Regions from separate parts of the Homo sapiens genome. Here regions 1 and 3 are each linked to region 2. The links are contacts of gene promoters, found by promoter capture Hi-C in blood cells and fetal thymus (Javierre and others, 2016). All regions are on one chromosome and are shown on one strand. Each heading gives the region's core, a stretch centred on a gene start or on the middle of the fragment in contact. The rest is flanking DNA. Distances are from core to core; before and after follow the strand shown.

The links. Contacts are between HindIII fragments. The CHiCAGO score rates a contact against its expected background, and 5 or more counts as called.
Region 1: a contact is called between a fragment that was not itself captured here and the fragment with the promoter of RASL11A in region 2, in 1 of 17 cell types (neutrophils). The highest score is 5.7, in neutrophils.
Region 3: a contact is called between a fragment that was not itself captured here and the fragment with the promoter of RASL11A in region 2, in 8 of 17 cell types (megakaryocytes, erythroblasts, total B cells and 5 more). The highest score is 11.4, in megakaryocytes.

The regions. Positions count from the first base shown.
Region 1 is chr13:27,623,555-27,627,607 of GRCh38, forward strand. It overlaps a transcript of POLR1D not described here. Among named protein-coding and RNA genes, the nearest start is that of POLR1D, 3.7 kb to the left of the region's middle. The HindIII fragment of the contact is 1,313 bases long and covers 628-1,940 here.
Region 2 is chr13:27,267,945-27,272,186 of GRCh38, forward strand. RASL11A (RAS like family 11 member A) reads left to right here and starts at 2,886. Exons shown (of 4, transcript NM_206827.2): 1 at 2,886-3,124; 2 at 3,540-3,596; 3 at 3,695-3,774. The coding sequence starts at 3,001. RefSeq lists an enhancer at 2,348-2,848 and silencers at 2,797-3,016, 3,057-3,286. The HindIII fragment of the contact is 11,897 bases long and covers 1-4,242 here.
Region 3 is chr13:26,998,451-27,002,508 of GRCh38, forward strand. No RefSeq gene overlaps it. Among named protein-coding and RNA genes, the nearest start is that of USP12-AS1, 130 kb to the right of the region's middle. The HindIII fragment of the contact is 2,857 bases long and covers 1,062-3,918 here.

The DNA.
Region 1 (4,053 bases), core at 34-2,533, 350 kb after region 2:
CTAGACAAGAACTGTGATCATGGGAATTAAAAGAAGTATATATCCATGTCTGTAGTTGGAGTGGTGGGGGTAAGGGAAGAGACAAAAACCATGACCCCAGTTAGATTGTTGTTTAAAAACAGAAGGAAAGAAGATTGGGGTGGGGACTTGGCTTCTTGCTAAACTTTTTGGCTTTTAAAGAATTGCATCATTTGCTGTGATTGGTAGACTTGGCAAGGGTGGGAATAATTTGGAAGAAGTGTGAGAATTCTGGTTTTACATGAGAGTTTTAGGGAGTAAGGCTCCATCTTTGAGGCATTTACAGGAAAGATACCAGTTTACTGCTTGAATTTTGGGATATACTTAGTCATGATCTAAGTAAGGTAAGATGTTTTGATTATATTACAGAAGGAGAAAATTGGGATGACTAGAAAACATTTTCAGTCCTTAAGTAGGTATAGCCTAGGGTAATGTAGAAGAAGCCCTATTTGAGAGAAGGTAAAGCCAAGGAGAAGGAAAATTCCATATAGGGGAAATGACTGTTTTGGAAAACACATATCCCACCCGCCAGTGCTCTGTGCTTTGGGCCCTTGTTTATCTATCCCCTCTTCCTGGGCCAGTCTTACTCCTGCCGTACTCTTAAGTCAAAGCTTATGTGTCAGGCCTCTCAGCCTAGTTTGGGTACTTCTTTGTGCTTTCATTACACCCTGTGTTTCCTGGCCTTGGCATTTACTATGCTATTGGTAGTGCTTATCTTGTTTACCCACTAAACCAACTTGGAGGTCAACATGATTCTGGTACCTGGAACACCTGACAGGTAGTGGACACTTAGTAAATACTCTATGAATTCATGTAAGTAGTTATGGCATGCAGCTTTTCAGTCACTCAAACCTGACCTCTTACACTAGCGTGCCATAGAGCCTACATTTCCTACACTCAGCCAAATTCTTTAAAGAGATATCCATATTTTTGAGCACTAGTATGTTCCAGGCCTTGGGGATAGATATATAGCTATAGTGGATGAGACAGAGTAAGTCCTGTTCTCATAAAGCATGTGTTATAAGAGCCCCTTAAAAAAAAATTGTGAGGCTCGGCATGGTGGCTCACACCTGGGAAGCCAAGGTGGGAGGATCACTTGAGCCCAGGAGTTTGAGACAAGCCTGGGCAACATGGGGAGTCCCTGTCTCTACAAAAAAATAAAAAAGGTAGCCAGGCATGGTGACACATGCCTGTAGTCCCAGCTGCTTGGGAAGCTGAGGCGAGAGGATATCTTGAACCTAGGAGGTTGAGGCTGCAATGAGCCATGATCACACCATTGCACTCCAGCCTGGGTGACAGAGGGAGACCTTGTCTCAAAAAAATATATAAAATTAAAAACTTGTAATTCTGTAAAAGCAGCAAATGTAGGGTCAAGATAGAAAACATAAGAAAGGAATCTACTTTAGGCACGGAAGTTAGGAAAGGTGTTCTAGAGATTACAGGAAGGGAGAGAGCTGGCTGTGCAAAGAGGAGAGAAAATGCATTCTGGGGGTATAGCATGTGCAAAGGTCCTAAAGCAGAAAACTGGTGGCATGAGGAACTGAAGATATTGAACAAAGATTTGCATGTTTTTGTAGCACAGTAGACAAGGAGAAGGGCCTGTCCTCTGGAGTCCATGGGAGGAAGAGTTGGGGTAGTAGGGATTTTGGATTTTAGGTTCAGTGGGAATGACGTCTTCTTTACTTTGATTACAGAGTGGGGGGAGATGAATTATAGGGAGGCTGGAGTAGAAGCAGAGAGAGACACTATAAAGAGTTGAAGTGGCCTGGAAGGGTAGAAGCTAGTGATGGAGAAGAGAAGGTAGGTTTGAGGTATATTTTAGAATTGAATTGGCACAGAATTGGTACACTTCAGGAACTGTGGAAGATGAAGAATCAAAGATGACTACTGCCTAGCTTTGGGGCCAATTACTGAAATTGGGAAGCTTAAAATGGAAAATAGATTGGGAGGTGGAAAAGATGATAGGAGTCAAAAGTTTCATTTGTGAACATTGTAAGCAGTGGCTATGTGAGTTGGAGATCGTGGAAGAGATCTAAGCTGGAGACAAATTTTATGAGTCCTTGCCATAAAGATGACATAAATTGATTAAAAAAAAAAAAATAGAGGGTGACAAAGAAGTGGGCCCAGAACAAAGCCCTAGGCAACTTCAGTATTTAAAGTTTGGGTCAAAGAAGAGTTAAAGATAAGAGTATTTGTAAGTTTGGGTCAATGTAATGGTAGGAAAGTGCAAAAATAGGGTGTGGAAGCCAAGGGTTTCAAATAGGGAATAGAAAAATGTCACCTGGAGTTAACGTGGAGGTCACTAGGCAGTAACAGCATTAGTTTACTGCCTAAGAAGAGTAAACATTACCACTCATTATACAGAGGAATGGCTTAGTTTGGTTTTCCAATAAAAGAATCACATGAAGACATTGGAAGAGGTGAGTTTAGGCGGGAGCAGGGATGTCATAGGGCAAGGATACAGCATATTCTCTTATGGTGACAGTAAGAAATTCTGGAAAGTCAATGTTTGTTTAAGGGCATTAGCCTTTGAAGATAAAAGGAAGCTCAAAAAGGATGTGGAAAAGGATTAAAAACTTTTTTCCTCTCCCAAAACTTTGCCTGTGGGGATAGTAAACAGAATTACTTACCTGGAGTTTAATTCCTCTAAACCAAGGCCTGTCAGGAGATGAAAACAAAGTTTAATTAGTGGACATCAAGGTACAGACTGATGATAGTAGATGAAGTACAGTGGGAAACACAGCCAGAGGCGACCGCTCACCACATCACAACTTCATTGCACCTAAAAGAATTTAGACTGATCACGTAGAATGCAGTCTTGAATGTCTTTAGGGTGACCATAAACTCACGGGTTCATACAAAACACCTGCAGAAGGCAGTTGGGTGGAGGGAAGAAACTGAGAAGGGGGCAGGCAGGTTAACCAAGAGTCTTGTATATGTGAAAGGAATCTGCATAAAGTCTGTAGGGACCTGAGGGAAAGCTGAGTTGGTCCAAAAAGGACTAGGGAGATGAATGTGAATCTTATACATCCTGTGAAAAGTTAATCCGCATCTGATTTGCACTCCAATAGCATTTCATTCTAAATAAACTCATGCCAGTGATTCAAGATCAGAAATTCTCTTCAGCTGTAAAGTACTGTGACTTTTAAAAAGCTGATTATTAAATATATACCAAAGGCTTTTAACATGTAGTAATTCTGAGTACTTGCTGGTACTTTCTATTTTCAAAGTACTTTACAAGCTAATTATTTACAAATTGCATATAGCTGTAACATCTAAGTACTCTAATTAGTTGGCATAATGCACAGGTTCACACAGAATCTCGAGAGATGGAAAGGTGTCTACAAAGTGGTCTCTTCAGTACTGACCCAAAGAGTGTCTTGCATCTCAAGAGATAGGAAAGCATATCAAGTTCCGTGGCCTACCACTCCCCACTCTTCTTTTAGTTTCCCTTAAACACGTTATTCAGATTTTAGATGGTCTCCAGATCACTAGACAAAAGTCTTCTTTTTGGTTAGCGTAATTTAGAGTCATTCTTTGTAACAACCTTTAAACTGGTCTCTTAGGAAGTTTACCCAAATCTACCCATCTGCTTTCAAGTACTTATTAAGACCCCCAAACCCAGCCTTTTCTTGCTCAAATTCTTAATGTTGCTATTTTCTTTTCCTGCTTTATAAACTATCCTGGTACAGTTACTGCGTGGGTCTGGTTTTTTTTTTTTTCTCATGATGAAATTCTTCTCAAACTTGGATTATTAGATCTCTAATTATTTAACTATACAGTAAGTATGTACCTAATAGTAGCACAGTCCTGAGAAATGGTGGAAATAAGAGACTATGAGTCTGTCCTGAAAACCCTTCTGTGGTTTTGGAGAAGGCAGACAAGAGCTGTACACATGAAAAAGAAAACCAATTGTATTGACAATGAAGTGCCCGAATGTGCAGTGTGGAGTATTATGTGATGAATTCAGAATGGGATGGGTGAAAGGCACTGCTGAAACATCTATTCTTTCATGAGCACTCATTCTGTTGGCCA
Region 2 (4,242 bases), core at 1,636-4,135:
TGGAACTTAACAGCTTCCAGTTGTTCCCTAGACAGTCATTGTCTTTATGGTGCCTTTTCCCCCATCAGGGAGGAAGGTGCCTTGCTTCAAGTCTTTTCAATTAAACTGCAGTTTAACAGAGAAAATTGCCTTATGAACAGTCAAAAGTCAGTACAACTTAAATATGGCAGTTTATCTCAGGACATCTCCCAGCACACGTCTTCCTGAGAGCAAGCTGCTCTCAAAACCAAGGCAATGGGAAAATGGTCAGAAACATGACTTCTGTATTTTCCAGTTCATACACTGAAGACAGCATTCATTCATTCATTTGGAAAGTCAGCCAGTGAACAAACATTTATTAAGGACCTTGCCAGTCCCAGGTGCCACTATGTGCTGGGTACTAGAGTCACAAGCTAGAGTCCCTGTCCTCCTGGAGACAGACATGAAACAAATATTCCACCAGAAAGTAATGATAGTTGAGATCAGTGCCCTGAGAGTGAGTAACTGCAAGATAGGGGTGGGGACAGTGGCAGTGATCAGAGACGGCTTCTCCAAGGGAGGAACATGTAAACTGAAGTCACCATCTAGTCTAGATTAGTTTACTTCAGGATTATTCAGAATTCTGCAGATAAGAAATGAGGCCGGGCGCGGTGGCTCACGCCTGTAATCCCAGCACTTTGGGAGGCCGAGGCGGGCGGATCACGAGGTCAGGAGATCGAGACCATCCCGGCTAAAACGGTGAAACCCCGTCTCTACTAAAAATACAAAAAATTAGCCGGGCGTAGTGGCGGGCGCCTGTAGTCCCAGCTACTTGGGAGGCTGAGGCAGGAGAATGGCGTGAACCCGGGAGGCGGAGCTTGCAGTGAGCCGAGATTGCGCCACTGCACTCCAGCCTGGGCGACAGAGCGAGACTCCGTCTCAAAAAAAAAAAAAAAAAAAGAAATGAGAGCAGTAGGGATACAGAGGGAGACACCAAGAAATATAGGAGGAGAAATGATGGAACTTGGCGATTAATCAATGTGGAAGTGAGAGAGTGGGTAGAGTCAAGGATGTCTCCCAGGCTTGGGCCACTGGGTGGATGGAGACACATTCATTAGCATGGTCAATTACAAAAATGGACCCCATTCTCCATCACTCTCTGCTTCCTTGCCCTTTCACACGTGACTTTTCTGCTGTTTCCACAAAGGGGCGGAGTGTATTTCCCTACTCCTTGAATATGGGCTGGCCCCATGACTTGCTTTGGCCAACAGAATGCAGCAGAAGGGATGGGTTCCTTCTCAAGGCCTAGGTCTCAAGAGGCCTTATCCATTTCCACCCACTCTCTTGGAACTCTGCTCAGCTACCATGAAGGCAGGCCCTGGCCAACGTGCTGAATGAGAAGAGACATGTAACTCAGTCACTACCCTCCCTCATCACAGCCAACAGCTGCCAGACATGAGTAAGGCTATCCAAGGGCAGCCAGCCCCCACTTCCAGAACCTGGAAGCTCCCTGCAGATGCATCAAAGGGCTCAACAACTGTAAGTGATTGTTGTTCTAAGCCATCTAGTTTGGTGTGGCTTGTCATGCAGCAAAAACTGGTACAACCAGGGTAGAGAAAGGTATGAATTAGGGTGGGGCTGTCTAATAGGCGATTAGGCAAGTGAGGCTGGAACACAGGAGGTCAGAGGCATGAAGGTCTTCTAACTGTTCAAGGTTAAAGTCCTGAGGCTTCTGCTGTGCTATTTCTGGTGGGCTCCAGAAATCCAAGAACCAGTCTATAGCTCTGTGTCCTGTTCCTCACACTGCCCCCCACCCCACCCTAGACCCCACCATGCACCTAGAAGTAAATATTTGGATACTGAAGCAAATGCATGACTCAAGCACATAGGATAGTATTAATGATGGACACTTAGTGCAGGGCCAGGGCCCCCAGCCAGTGGAGTGCTCATGAGTGTTCAGGAATGAGCCAGTGCAACCCCTGCCTGCAGAGGAGGGGCTGGGCATGGATACTGAGATGCTAACCATCACTGCCCCTAAGGGGACTTCATCTATCCCTAGCAAGGTCACAGTGACTGCAGTTGCCTCCACTGATACTAATTCAGAGCTCTTGCCCCCCGCCCCCCGCCCTTTTCCCATATTAATGTTACCCCTTAGCATCTTTTCTTTTCTTTCTTTTTTTTTTTTTTTTGAGACGGAGTTTCGCTCTTGTGGTCCAGGCTGGAGTGCAGTGGTGCCATCTCGGCTCACTGCAACCTCCGCCTCCCTAGTTCAAGCGATTCTGCTGCCTCAGCCTCCCGAGTAGTTGGGATTACAGGCGCCCACCACCACGCCCCGCTAATTTTTGTATTTTTAGTAGAGACAGCGTTTCGCCATGTTGGCCAGGCTGGTCTTGAACTCCTGACCGCAGATGATCTTGCCCACCTGGGCCTCCCAAAGTGCTGGGATTACAGGCGTAAGCCACCGCGCCCAGCCCCTTAGCACCTTTTAAAAATAAAAAGGGCAGCGTTTTACAGCAATCTGTCCCATTGTTGCAGAAACATCCAACTGATTGCACTTTTTCTTCTTCTCTCGTCAACTCGTAACTCCTATCTCAAGTTCACCCACAGGTCTAGTGACTCCGGCTGGCTGCTGCGGGGCGAGGAGACTCGCAGAATGCCTGACTAGAGGCCACTCGCGCGCTCTGGACGGTGGCCGTATCTCCAGGGTCTGAGCCCCGGAGCCGCAGTCCTGCCGCAGAGCGCCTGGAGCCGCGAGCAGCTAGCAGCCCGGCGAAGCGCACAGCCTCGGCGATAGTCAGCTCCGCGGCCTCTGCTCCCGCCCCTCCCGGCCGCTCCGGGAAGGGGCGGAGACGAGGAGGAGCTGGGACGGCCGCCGCGCTCCCGGGCGCACCAAGCCCTTTAAAAGCCGCGGGCCTTGACAGTTCTGCAGGCAGCCGCCGCGGTCCCGGACCTCTAGTCCCGCACTCCCAGCTGGCGAGCCGGCTCCGGGTGCGGCGAGGCCCAGCCCTCTCGGATTGCGCGCCGGACCCCGGGACGCGCTCCATGCGGCCGCTCAGCATGTCCGGGCACTTTCTGCTCGCACCCATCCCCGAGTCCTCCTCGGACTACCTACTGCCCAAGGACATCAAACTGGCGGTGCTGGGCGCCGGCCGCGTGGGCAAGAGCGGTGAGTGCGGCGGGGACCCCCGGGCGGCTTCGCTCCCCGGCTCCGGCCGCGACCACTGGGGGCGCTGCGGAGAGAGGGCGCCTCGGCCGAAGCAGAGGGCGCGGGTGCAGGTAGAATCGGGCTGCTTTCGCGCTGGGTGGGTCCCGGTCCGTCCCGGCCTGCTTCCCTGGCGTTTCCTGGTGCATCTACTCCTGGGATCTCGGCGGGATTGGCGCCTGTTCGGGGATGGGGTGCGGGAGAGGTGTCCCGCCAGTCGTACTCGCGGCCAAGCCCGCGGCACCACGGCTTTGCGGAGCCTCTGGAAGCGAGCAGTGCCCACGGTTCTGCACCCTTCACTCCCCCCAGTTTGTCCGAGGTGCCTGGGTTTGACAGGCTTGTTCTACTCCTTCGGTTGATTTTCCTATTTCCTTTTCAGCAATGATCGTGCGCTTCCTGACCAAGAGATTCATTGGAGACTATGAACCGAATACAGGTGAGAATACTTTCACGCTCCCTGCTTTTATGCTTGCGTGTTTCTTTTTACGGATGGGAGTTTGAGAATTAAAAAGCAAACTCTACTTCATTCTCCAGGCAAGCTGTATTCACGGCTGGTCTATGTCGAGGGGGACCAGCTCTCCCTGCAGATCCAGGATACTCCCGGGGGCGTCCAGGTAAGAACCGCCAGGGGCAAACAGCTCACCCCCACCCGTGAGACCACCCCAGTGGGCACAGCACGTAGGGCGCCCATGCTGGGCGCAGGGGTCTGAGCAAGGCATCTAAACCGACCTGTGCGTTTAGAGGGAGGAATGGGCTGTCCACAGGTGGGGCCAGTGGTTGGGGTGTTAGAAACTCTCTAAGGGGGAGGCATGGTTAGAAGCAGCCTCCTCTTGTTAAGCACCTGACTTAACTTCACTTTGCAACCCTGGTGGGCCATCACTACTTAAGCAGGTCTCACCATTTCTTCCGGAGGTAGCCATGGAACCATTAACAAAGAAAAAAACGTTTAAAACAAAACAAAACAAAACAAAAAAAGAGGTAGGATTCTGATGGGAGAGACTCTTCTCCCCTGGCAAGCTCTGCTTTTTTTGAGACGGAGTTTCACTCTTGCCCAGGCTGGAGTGCAGTGGCTGGATCTCAGC
Region 3 (4,058 bases), core at 1,240-3,739, 270 kb before region 2:
CAGCAGTCGTGCAAGAACAAAGCTTCCAGCCCAAGGTTCTTCGCACTTCCTCTTCCCTTGCTCCACCTAAGTCTTCGTCTCTGTGAAGTGATGTGCAGTTGCTGTGCTGGGAAACAAATCTCCTGACTCTGACATAAAAGGACGTGTTTTGTGCCTTGCTTAGTTTCAAAGGTGAAGTCAATAAAACATCGATGATGCTGGCACCATGGACAGGAATAATGCCCCCAGGGCCCCTTCTAATTATTGGCTGTAAAATTTTGTATTCCGCCTTGAAAGAATGTGAACAGTTACTCTGTTAAATTAATGGGAAAACTGTCCAAAGTATGAGATAATTAATAGTTTATCTTCTATAATATTCTATAATACAAGACAATGAGATGATTTAAAAAAAAAAACTTCAAATTTTAAAAAATAACGGCAAATGTCCTCACCATGGAGGTTCATGAACCGGGCGTCCTTGTTCACCTCCACGGCGGTGAGATTCATTATTCCCTGGGACTGTGACACAAGGTCCTCCCAGGACATGCTGGTACCAGAGAGGAAGCCAGGAAAACAGAAAGAGCAGGGAAGAGTTCATTTCGGGAGGAAAAAATACAGCCTGGAAGCATTTATTAAAACCTGGGCTTTATGTTATTCAAAATTTGAGAGGAGAAAAGATATTTACAGACTCTGCAGCAACTATATTTTTCATCAGACACCTCAAAGTATTATTCAGATGTTTCAGATGTACTGAGGTATCAAAATTCTCAAAGATATAATTTTTTTACTCACCAAACATGAAACAATGTCTATTGATCATTCAGAAATTTTGAGGACACACAAGGACTATGGGTTTACAACAAAATATGGAGACTACAACTTATAAATTGCTAGTAAAACACAGTCTCTCTCTCTCTCTCTCACACACACACACACATATGCGCAAACACACAGAACCCACAACCCATGCCAACACCACTGCCCCTTAAAAGATGTTTAATCCATGTTCTTAACCACGTTATACAGTTTCACAAACTTGGTCACAGCTCTGAATAATGGAAATAACTCCAATAACCTTTGGAAGCTTTAGATAATTCTGCAAAACATGGCGGGACTTTAACTCTAGTAAGCGCAGGACAGCTCTGGCTCTGTTCTTTTACTACTTACATGGCAGCTTCCACCCAACCAGGATGCCACACATGGCCCATCCAATCACCCCAGCACACGTGGCGGTGAACTTGGTCTTCCTGACAAAGAGAGGCAGCCAGCTCACAGAGCAGCAGAGTGTGACCCAGTCGGGGACCCAGGGCATGCTCATTCTGCCCTTGGGAAGATGGCCAGGCCCCTTCCTGTATCTCAGCTGCTTCTCTCAGACCCTAGGTTGATGATTCCGCATCTGAGTTGCTGCTTGGGTAAAAAGAGTAGGATTGTGGGGGCATACGGACCACACCATCAGATATGGGCAACAAATATCTTAAAATGAAAAAGCAGTTTGTGACCTCATGGAGTGTGGATTCATTTCTGCATAATGCTTGTGTGTGTGTGTATTATACTCTAGTATATCTGTATATTTAGAATAAATATACAGATCTGTATATTTAGAATAAATTCTGGAGGAATATTACCAAAATGTAATTAATGGTTATGGCTTTGAGGCACAATTTTAGGATGCTTTAAGTTTTTGTTTTACTTTGATATTTAATTTTTTAATGAGCATGCATTAGTTCTGAAGAAAAAATGTTTTTAAAAAATTTTAAAGAGCAAGTATGCAAAATAAGAAGTTCAAACACATCATTTTTACATATGATCAGACGTGGTTTTATTAATGGCAAAGCGAGTTACTAAAAATAAGATTTGCCCAAAGAAGCAGAAATGAGGCCCTGTGTGTTTCCTGCCATCCCATCTTTTACTCCAAAATGAATAAAGGATAGTTCATAGGATCCCAATGTTTAAGGATGCTAATTTTTCTTTAGCTTTGACCTGAAGTTATTTATTTAATGAATGAGAAGAACTAATACATTTAATGTGGAAAATCTGATCACAATTTATACATGATTTTTTGTTTTTGTGAGTTCAACACTGGACTCTCATTTTTCTGTTCTTTTTTCATGTAATATTCCATAAACGGTTGTATTCTACCATGTCATTCAATGTCAGATCATAAGCATTTTCCCACATTGTCACAAAGTCTTCAGAGACATTTTAACAGCTGTGTAATAAACAACTGTGTCTTGGGTGATTTGGCCACTTGCTTATCATTGGCCTTTTAGGTCTTTCATCAGCTATTAGAAATAATCATTTATTCCTCAACTCATTCATCCACAAATCCAACGAATACCTCTTCAGCACTTGCTCTGCCCGAGGCCCTGTGCTAAGCACTGGGGGATCATCCAACACAGTCTCCCTAGCTGAGGACAAATGTTAACCAACCAGCAGCTGCACCGTCGCACACCGAATTGACTGCTTTGACGAAGAAGCAGAGTTTGAGGAGAAGTTAGACCTTGAGAACCTGGCTGTTAGAGGATAAACTGTGTGCATCCTCCCAAACTCATAGGGTGAAGTCCTAACCCCCAGCACCTGACAGTGGAATTGGACTTGTAAGTAGGGTCATGGCAGATTGACTCAGTTAAATGAGGTCATCAGGGCAGGCCCTAATCCAATAAGACTGGTGTCCTTATAAAAGGGGGAAATTTGGACACACACAGAAAGAAAGCCGTGTGGACGTGAAGTTGGCCTTCTAAAAGCCCAGGAGAGTAGCTGGGAATAGATCCTTCCCTCAGAGCCTCAGAAGGAACCACCACTGCTGACACCTTGACCTTGGACTTTCAGCCTCTGGAACTGGGAGAAAACTCGTACCTGTTGTTGGTGCCACCCGGTCTGTGGGGCTTGGTTTTGGCAATCGTAGAATGAGGCTTCTCTGGGGAAGTGACATTAGGCTGTGATCTGGATGATGAGGGGGAGTCACTAGAAGAGAAAAGGGAGTGATGTGTGCCCAAAGGAGGCAAGGGTCTAAGTCATCGAGGGACAGTAGGCACATGAAGGATGTTGGGTATCATTCTATGGTCAATGAGCTGGAAAGTGACTTGATCAGCGTGGCCTTTTGTATTCAGAGTTCAACAAAACATGAAAGAAGTCACTCTTGCTTTTTTGAGAAGAAAAGCACCTAATACAGAGAATTATCTGCTCACAAGTCATTAGATGGGCTGGAGGAGCAGGTCATGGCCTGGGTCTTGAGGAGGAATTCGCAGAGTGTCACTGCAGAGCTCACTCACCAGGGGAGCCGTTACCTCTACTTCAGTGAGGAAGCTGGGGAATCAGAAGATGAGCTGCACCTGCTGGCCTCAGAACACAACGTACAGGCAGCAGTCCAGTGTCCACAGGCCACAGCTGCAACTACAACTGCAGAGCTACACTGCACCTGCTAAACACATACCTGCTGGAGCTACGTCTGCCAGACCCACACCTGCTGAAGCCACACCTCCTAGACCCACGTCTACTGGAGCCAAACTCGTTAGACCAACACCTGCTGGAGCCACGACCCCTAGACCCACACCTGCTGGACCCAGCTGCAGAAGTGAACACCTGCCCCCTGCCACCACTCTCCCTGCCTCACTCTGCACTAGCTCAGGTCACCTACATTTGACTTAAGCAGAGCCTAAGTTGGAATCTACATTTCATGGAGTCTAGGAAATACAGTCCTCACCTTTCCAGCTTCTGCAGGAGAGAAAGGCACACTGGGAGGAGGTTGGAAAAGATGTTGAATACACCAAAGTACTGCATCCTCTTCAAAAGATCACTTTGGTTTTTCTATGGAAACTGTGTCAGAGGAAGCAAAGGTGGAGGAGGGAGTCTGGGTAGAAGACAGCTGCAATAGTCCAAGTGAGAGATGGTGGTTGGTCAGGCTGAAAGGGCAGAAGGGAGATGGAGTTGAGAGATTAAAGCTTACATCCTGAAAGTAACATTCAAAGTCCTTGCTCGGGTCTCCCAGGCCCTAGGAGACTCCTCTCCTACCTCCTCTGGCCTCATCTCACTCTTCCCTGTGAGCTCCAGCCACATTCACCCTCTCCTGTTATTTGAAA